2 separate regions of the Homo sapiens genome follow, and region 1 is linked to region 2. Evidence: promoter capture Hi-C in 16 types of primary human blood cells and fetal thymus (Javierre and others, 2016). All regions are on one chromosome and are shown on one strand. Each heading gives the region's core, a stretch centred on a gene start or on the middle of the fragment in contact. The rest is flanking DNA. Distances are from core to core; before and after follow the strand shown. Region 1 overlaps PYHIN1 (pyrin and HIN domain family member 1). Region 2 holds the start of OR10X1 (olfactory receptor family 10 subfamily X member 1).

What was found. Contacts are between HindIII fragments. The CHiCAGO score rates a contact against its expected background, and 5 or more counts as called.
Region 1: a fragment that was not itself captured here is called in contact with the fragment with the promoter of OR10X1 in region 2 in 1 of 17 cell types (M1 macrophages); the score reaches 5.3 in M1 macrophages.

The regions. Positions count from the first base shown.
Region 1 is chr1:158,940,982-158,945,710 of GRCh38, forward strand. It overlaps PYHIN1 (pyrin and HIN domain family member 1), which reads left to right. Exons shown (of 9, transcript NM_152501.5): 5 at 996-1,418; 6 at 2,809-2,997; 7 at 3,894-4,061. Among named protein-coding and RNA genes, the nearest start is that of PYHIN1, 12 kb to the left of the region's middle. The HindIII fragment of the contact is 525 bases long and covers 2,393-2,917 here.
Region 2 is chr1:158,577,558-158,581,802 of GRCh38, forward strand. It overlaps OR10X1 (olfactory receptor family 10 subfamily X member 1), which reads right to left and starts at 2,342. Exons shown (of 1, transcript NM_001004477.1): 1 at 1,362-2,342. The coding sequence starts at 2,342. The coding sequence ends at 1,362. The HindIII fragment of the contact is 11,722 bases long and covers 1-4,245 here.

The DNA of each region.
Region 1 (4,729 bases), core at 1,405-3,904, 360 kb after region 2:
TCAGTTACTATTAATATTCTCATGGATGGATCTACGGTTACTGATTAACTTGTGTTGGGAAAGGACTTTTCTGTTTTAGGCTGAATGGGTCACATGGATGAAAAGTCAGATCAAATAAAGTCCAGTCACTCACAGATGATCACTGTATATGGTATTCCAGATCAGACCACTCCAGGAGCTGCTGGTTTGTGAATGAAACAAACCTACCTATTCCTCCAGTGCTTTTTCTTGAAATTGAACAACTTTCCCTTCATTAATGTGTTCTGCTGCAAATTAAGGAAACCTGGATGTTATAGAGAAAGGATATTAAAGACAATCCACTCTGATCCTTGCTTTTCTGTCAGCATGCTACCTCCTAGAGCCCTGACATTGAGAAAGACTGCAATGGTGGTAATGACACTCTGTAGAGTGTCTGTAGCCTGAACCTACTGAGATGAGGGCATTCTGAGGGGTTTAGCCCACAGGTGTTCTCACCTGCTTTAACAGCATTTATCTTAGGCAGGAAAAGTATGAGTTGTATGCTAAAAATTGCCCTGTCTACATTGGTAATAACTAAACACTGTTGATGTATGTGGTTTGTGGTGGACACCCTTTACCATTTTCAGCGCTATTCAATTGTATTTTGTCTATTTTTATGCTCTGGCATTTTAAGCTGGTAAGAGTAAAACTACAACTCATTATTTTATCCTAAATTTATTTTAAGTTAATTCATGATGATTGGCTCAGCATCCACTTGTCTTTTGTTGCTATTATATCTTACATTTTAAGGATTATTCTGTTTAAAGAAAGTCTTCTTTTACTATGTGGTCTCCTATATTACTTCCTCTGGCTATGAGACTACTTCAGAATATCCTCTCCTTCCCTGTATCCTGGCCCCAGCTCTACACATCTACAACTTTTGGGGGCCCAATGTTGTGCCTTGAGGTCACTGAAGAGCAATTCTGTATTCCTCACTCAAAAATTTCTTTTTTGTATTCCTTTTGTATCATGCGCAGAGCCTAAAACCATTGGCCAACCGTCACGCAACTGCCAGTAAAAATATTTTCCGAGAAGACCCAATAATCGCGATGGTACTAAATGCAACAAAAGTATTTAAATATGAATCCTCAGAAAATGAGCAAAGAAGAATGTTTCATGCTACAGTGGCTACGCAGACACAGTTCTTTCATGTGAAGGTTTTAAACATCAACTTGAAGAGGAAATTCATTAAAAAGAGAATCATCATTATATCAAATTATTCCAAACGTAATAGTCTCCTAGAGGTGAATGAAGCCTCTTCTGTATCTGAAGCTGGTCCTGACCAAACGTTTGAGGTTCCAAAGGACATCATCAGAAGAGCAAAGAAAATTCCGAAGATCAATATTCTTCACAAACAAACTTCAGGATATATTGTATATGGATTATTTATGCTACATACGGTAAGGCATCAAAGCTATTTTGTGGCATTTTCTACAATAACACTTGAAATTAAAAGCCCTGATGTGCTAAATGGAAGTTTGCATATTACTTAACATTAAAACTCAGGACTCTCTCAAAACTACTGACAAGTAGATAAAGTCTTCTTCGAGGTTAAGACCAGGATTAGGAGAACTATTAATGTTCTCATTCTTTCCAAAATATCACCCTGAAGTTCTTTAGTAAAACATTCACTGAGAAACCTTGAGACTTCATCAGCTGTGACTATCTATTATGAGTCATAACGATCAAAGATAGTGAGGGATCTAGATCCATACAAACATAATACTAAACTTATTTCTTTGATTATAATCTCAATTGTAGCAAAAATCACATTGTTTTCATTTTGAATACAGTATTGTTCTTTGAGGCTTGAGTTCCAGTTTTGACAATCAGGGCAAGAAATGAATTGACTGTTTATACCTGGAAATCAATTGCAGTAAACAGGTAGGACAATGTTCTGACCAAATGAAATGCATTCATCAAAAAGTATTGAAGGGCTGAGAAATATAAATTTGGGTGATACTTGGAGAATCAGGTAATCTGTACTCGTATATTAGATATGTCGCAAAAAAAGAGCAGAAAAAATTTTCTGATATGTTACTGTCAAAATTCACGAAACTAGTTAGCTTGAGACATTCCAACTCAGAAAACCATCTATACCTGGCTATTGAGTCCAGTAATTTCTTAGATGACTGACAGCTCATGATCTGTTATATTTATTTTCTAGAATGACCTCTTATTTTACCAGCATTGCTTTCTGTACACACTCTTAAAGAAATTCTTAGAAATACACATCCAGAACGATGAGTAATAGCCTTGATGAGCAAGAAATTGGAATGTTTGAGCTTAAGGACCTGAGTTCAGGATGGGAGCAGATGTTGAAAGAGATTCAGTAAATGGAGAAAGTCAAAAAAGTAATTAGATAGTTACTAGAAGCTTGTTTTTTATTACAGATTCCTCATAACATAGTGAATGATGAGTTGTGACAGATGCCCATTCTTTTTGCATAGGGGCAGAGGCCAAATAAGCCTACCAAGGACTTCAGTTTCCTTTGTATCAAGGTGCTTTGGGAAGCATAGCAGTCTTGGAGGTGAAAGAAGTTGAAAATGGGAAGATAACTCATTGCTCTAGAACTGTAATAGAAATACTTAGAACATTAAGGACTTAAACAAAAAGGATATTGAGGGAGAGCTCTGTGAGATGGTCTAGACTAAGGCATATGTATTGTATGTCGATACAGTACTAGGAGTTGCTGTCTTGCATCTTGTTTTTAATCTGTCACAAGAGACTTTCCTATATGCACGGTAGTTACTATGTTCTCACAAACATGATATTAATTTTTTGTTGCAGAAAATTGTAAATAGGAAGACGACAATCTATGAAATTCAGGATAAAACAGGAAGTATGGCTGTAGTAGGAAAAGGAGAATGCCACAATATCCCCTGTGAAAAAGGAGATAAGCTTCGACTCTTCTGCTTTCGACTGAGAAAGAGGGAAAATATGTCAAAACTGATGTCAGAAATGCATAGTTTCATCCAGGTGAGAAATAAAGAAACAAATATTAGTTTTCCAAAGATGAAAATCATTTGCTTTAAGTTTTAGGAAGCCATACTTCTGTTGTTTTACACTTAAAATTCTGCAGAGTTCATGAGAAACCAAATAATGCCCTTGCGCTTACATTTAAATAGAGAAAATTATTAAAATATATTAAGAGATGGACAATTATCTTCTTCAAAAAGACATGAAACTTGTGCTAAATATTAAAATATTTGAAGAAACTAGGAGGCCACGGGCCTAATTGCAGTTAGTTATCAAAACCAAGTTCTTTGCAGTAAGATAGGCTTGGTATATATCTTGCTCATTGGTTGCATGATATTGGAGAAATAGCTTACATGTTCCTCACACAATTGGTTTGAAAATTAAATGAGATCATGGATATACATTTTGTAGCCCATTGCCTTCCTTGTACCTTGTGACAAACCAGTATGCACTAGATACTACTGCTCTTAACAAGGTAAAGACAGACATTGGAAAGACTTCAGGCAGAGAAAATGTTGCATACAAACATTAAAAGTGAGAAAAAGCATAGTGAGTTCTGTACAACTTTGGCATATGTGGAAAGGTATGAGAAATTCATGCAAGACAGGTAACAAGCAGCCCTTTTCTCATCTGTCTTATGCCATAAAGACAAAAATGGATTTCATTTTAAAAAATAAGTGAATAAAGATTTTATTTTACTAAGAATGTTAGATCATTTTACATTTTAGCAAAAAAATATATTGGCAGTTGCCTGGAGGAATACATTAGATAGAGGCAATCTTTGAAGGTAATGACATCTATTAGAATTTAATAAAGGATGATATTCTCACATATTTAAAGATGTTTTGCTTTCCCTAATATTAAAAAACATTAAACAAAAAAATGAATACTTTCAGATACAGAAAAATACAAACCAGAGAAGCCATGACTCCAGGAGCATGGCACTACCCCAGGAACAGAGTCAGCATCCAAAACCTTCAGAGGCCAGCACAACCCTACCTGAAAGCCATCTCAAGACTCCTCAGATGCCACCAACAACCCCATCCAGCAGTTCCTTCACCAAGGTACAATATCCTGGGTCCCATGACTCTTATCTCCCAAATATAAATTACAAGGATCATTAGATTGTTGAAAGAGTTTCTCTTCTAATCCCTAACTGTGTACAATCTCTAGATAAAATTAAATCACCCATGTATTTATTGAATGCATACAGTGAGATACTACCACATGATAGTCTTTGCTATCTAAAAGATATTTATTTGTGCAACGATTGCTGACCACAAGAGGGCTAGTATCTTGTCTTGCTCCACCTATGGGAGGGGTAATGGCCAGAGAAGTAGAGATGAAGACAAAGAGTGTGTTATGACCCACATTCCAATTTCTTTCACAACTTTCCCCTTTGCTTATTGGTATTATTTCTGAATTTATTTTCAGCATTCCAAGTTGAAATAAATATTCGAAGTATATATTTGGAAACATGCTATTTCATTGTTGGGAATCTATTTCTCCCATCTCATCACTGGCAAGAATTTCCTTAAATTTCAGACACCAACTTAAGTATTTTCCTCTGGCAAGTCCTCAATGATACAAGATAGCAGAACTGTTGAGTCCTCCTATTGTTTGCTTTTACAGGGCCTCCTGTCAATGAGAGTAAAGTACTAATTTCACAGAAGTGAACAGAGAGGCTTATCATATAAGATGTTTTCCATACTTCCTTGATCTGGGGTTTCCC
Region 2 (4,245 bases), core at 1,092-3,591:
TTCCAGAAATTGATTTTTTTTTTCAGATTTTGTTTTTCTCATATGGATATGCTATTTTCCTAGCACCAGTTATATTGAAAGTCTATCATTTTCTCACTGTACTGAAATGCTTTACTTGTCATAAAGCAAGTGCCCATATGGGTATGAGTCTTTGGGTATTTTCAGCTTCCATTTACTCACTTATTTCTGGCAACTAGCAATCCCCGCCACAGTCACTATATCAGGCACAAGCAGGCTAATTGGTCCAAATTTAGGTTCAGGATCTTGAGTCTAGACTTGACGTAACATCCTCTGCATCCATAATAAGGGAGTAAATAGTATTTATTTTTGAGACTTTTAGCTTCCCTAGATTGAATAACCAATTGTCGGGAGTGGAACCAAAGCAAAAGAAAATGCTTGCCACTAAGGAATGGCTGCAGATTGAAGGTAGCAGAGATTTTTGTCTGCACCTGTATCATGAAAATAATCCCAAAGAAAGAGTGTCATGGTCAGGGGTAAACTTAATCAGTTAATGTGCATAATAAATTTATCCACTATTTCATTTATTTCATAACATTCCCATAAGTAACAGAACTCAAAATTACATCAATACTCTTACATCTCTTATCAGAAATGATTTGTCTCATGGGAGGTGCATTTCAGTGCTTCATAACATTTGCCTAAAAAAAATCCTTAACTTTTACGTCTATTATTATTATTATTATTATTATTATTATTATTATTATTATTTGAGATGGAGTTTTGCTCTTGTCACCTGGGCTGGAGTGCAATGGCATGGTCTCTGCTCACTCTGCCTCCTGGGTTCAAGCTATTCTCCTGCCTCAGCCTCCCGAGTAGCTGGGATTACAGGCACCCACCACCATGCCCAGCTAATTTTTGTATTTTTAGTAGAGATGGGGTTTTACCATGTTGGCCAGGCCGGTCTCAAACCCCTGGCCTCAAGTGATCTGCCCACCTCGGCCTCCCAAAGTGCTGGGATTACAAGCCTGAGCCATGGTTGACATCTTTAGATATTTAAAACATCACTCAGTGCAGTGGATTTATATGCTGTTTTTTCCTTCCACACTTTTTACTCAATTCATGAATACTGCAGGACACCCGGAAGTTGATTATCAGAATCTTTTATCTGCAGGGACATTCTTCTTCTGATACTGGATAGTAGAAGGGTTGGACAGCTTCTCTAACAAGCTAAGTAGATGCCTGTGGCTACTTAGTTCCCAGTCTGTGTCACTTGCTTCTTACATCCCAACCTCTGGAACAAGGCAAATGGTACAAGTTTCTCCAGGGGTCACAGGATAAATGCCCCTATTGAATTCTGGGGACATTGAGCCCTTCTTCAAACAAGCAGCAACAACCCAAGATTATTTTTTCAAGGCAACTGTGTTTCCCATCATTCTTCTAAAAGCATTTTTCATGTCCTTATTCCTCAGGCTGAATATGATGGGGCTGAGGAAGGGGGTAATGACAGTATAAGGGACTGCTATGAGTGTGTCATCTCCTGAGGCTTCTGGCTTCAAATAAACAATAGATGCAAAACCAAAGTGGATTATAACCACGGTGAGGTGGGAGGCACAGGTGGTGAAGGCCTTCTGCTTGCCCTCAGCTGAAGGGATCCTGAGGACAGTAGAAATAATGAAGACATCAGTCAGGATGATGAGCAGAAGGGTACCCAGCAAACCAGACACTGAGATCAGTGTTATAATGAATTCTGTGTGGTTACTGTCTATACAAGACAGCCTAATAACTGCCAGCATATGGCAGAAGAAGTGTTTGACAAGGTTGGGTCTGCAGAAAGAGTCCCTGAATATCAGTGCAGTCTCTGTAAGAGAGATAAAGAAGCCTGCAGTGCAAGCAGAGGCCACAAGTTGTCCACATACAATGTTGGTCATAAGCAGTGGATATCTTAGAGGGTTACAGATGGCCAGGAAGCGGTCATATCCCATCAAAGTGAGAATGATACAGTTTGTGCCACCAAGTCCCAAGAAGAAGCACATCTGTAAGCTACAACCTGTGACTGAAATGCTTCTGTCCTTGGCCAGTAGATCTTCCAGCATCTTGGGGACGATGGTCAGCGTATAGCAGGTCTCAGAGAAGGAGAGTGCACTAAGGAAGAGATACATAGGGGTGTGGAGGGACCTGTCCACCCAAGTTAGACCCATGATGATCAGATTACCTGCAAGGGTGAGAAGGTAGAGACAAAAGAAGACCACAAAAAGAAATGTCTGTACATGTGGGTACACAGAAAAGCCAACAAGAATGAATTCCTTCAGGATTGTCTGGTTGATCTTCATCGTTTGAATGTCTGAAATTTGAAAGAAACAACAATAAACATTCAACACCATTATCTTTTGATACCATCAAAGGAAAATTGTGATGACTAAGATAAATCATCAGAATTACAATTACCAACTGCTTTTTCTTGTAGTTTAGCAAAACTATGTATATGTAGGTAATGTGTTTTTCTCATTTTTCATCCATTCATTTTTTCCTTTATTCAGCAGCTAATTAGTGATGACTTAGTATATGACATCACTATGTATATGACAAGAAGGCTTGCTCTGGCCTATTTTTAAAAGGATTTTATGAGCATGTGGTATAATATGGGAGGAAACACTCCAGTTGATGCTCAGATAAAGGAGGTTCAGATGCATTAGGTGAGCTTTATTTGGATGAGCTTCTGAACACAGAGAAAACTTTTAAGTGGCTAATAGAGTCAGGGTCCAACACAGAAACTTCCACACAATGTATGGTCTATAAATATTTACTGCGTAAATATCAAGAATTGATTTCCAAGTAATTTTAGGACAAAACTTGGACAATCACTTGCAATTGTTGGAGAAGCCCAAAGTCATTAACCCTTCTTGGAGAATATATTTAGGTCCTAGAATTTTAAAAGAAAGTTAAAAAAACATGTGTCATTATTTCTGCTCTGAGAAGAGGGAAAGAAGAAAGATAGGGTAGCCTAGGACTCTTAGGATTAATAGTAATTAATTAAATCTGTGGATGGTTTTGATAAGCAGACTATACAAGCATAGTGCAGGTGGCAATTGAGATTGTGTCTATTTTGTTAATTCCCAGCTCAGCATTCAAAGAAAATAAGTGGCATTTAATAATTGTATAAATTTTTCAATAATGCTACATCTGATTTAATCTCATAGTCCTCTGATTTCTATAGCATGTTGTTAGTCCCTATATTTAACACATTGTTTCAGCCCTGTAGTATATTGAGCTACTGTTTTCCCTGCCCCATATGTCAACATATTTAATAACTAGCATTTGTGGGGTTTATATTTTTCCAAATTATTTCAAATGTTTATTGATTTTACTCTTCACAGCATAAATATAAAGTGAATGGGACGGTTGCGAAATGGGTAGGACAAGTGTGATTACTTATTTTAGAAATAAAATTATGTCTTGGAAGTGGCATATTTGTGACTAGAAGCAAAGAGATTTGACTTGAATTGTATACTCTTTTCATTTATCAATGCTTAGTGCTTCAAGAAAGAGACCATAAGTCTTATATTTTTGTATTTTTCAGAGTAATAATATGGAGCACTTTAAGAAGGTAATAATTCCTGGTGAATGTTAGATGGATGAGTTAATCATCAAAAAAGTGCTTAGTATATAAATGATTTTTGTTTTCCTTTGTTATTCAGCACTGTATAGCATTTGATTTTTGAGCATGGAGGTTAACAGACTTTCCACTCTAATTAGGTTTTGTTTAGGCTAAGATTAAGCATTCTCATGGCAGAGTCTAACTTATCACTGACAGTCAGAAGACACAGTAGAAAAAAGGTCTGAATTATAAGTGGTTCCTAAAATAATCCACAACCCTTTGGACTCTACTTTAAAGGTCCCTTTGGTTCTTTGTCTTCTTAGACCTTACAAGTTTCTTACTCTCTGACAGTCATACATGAATCACATGACTTAATCTTTTCTTATCTCCTATCAACTCTTTCTCCATTCTGTTTCCCTTTCACTTACTGTATCTACTCTTCTTAGTGAGCAGTCATTTCCCAATAAGAAGACCATTTTTCTGTTCTCTTACCTAAGGGAATATTATAGAGGACCATGTCTATTATAACCCGGGGCTTCCTCTTGAGGCCTTTTGGTGTGAGCCTCTTTAGTAACCACATTCAGTACGAGTATCTTTGGTTTCCAAATCTACTTGCAGATGATTGTTCCACTTTTCTCTATGATCAGCTTTCTGCTACATTTCAACTGTTCAGAGGCATCTTTTTCCTT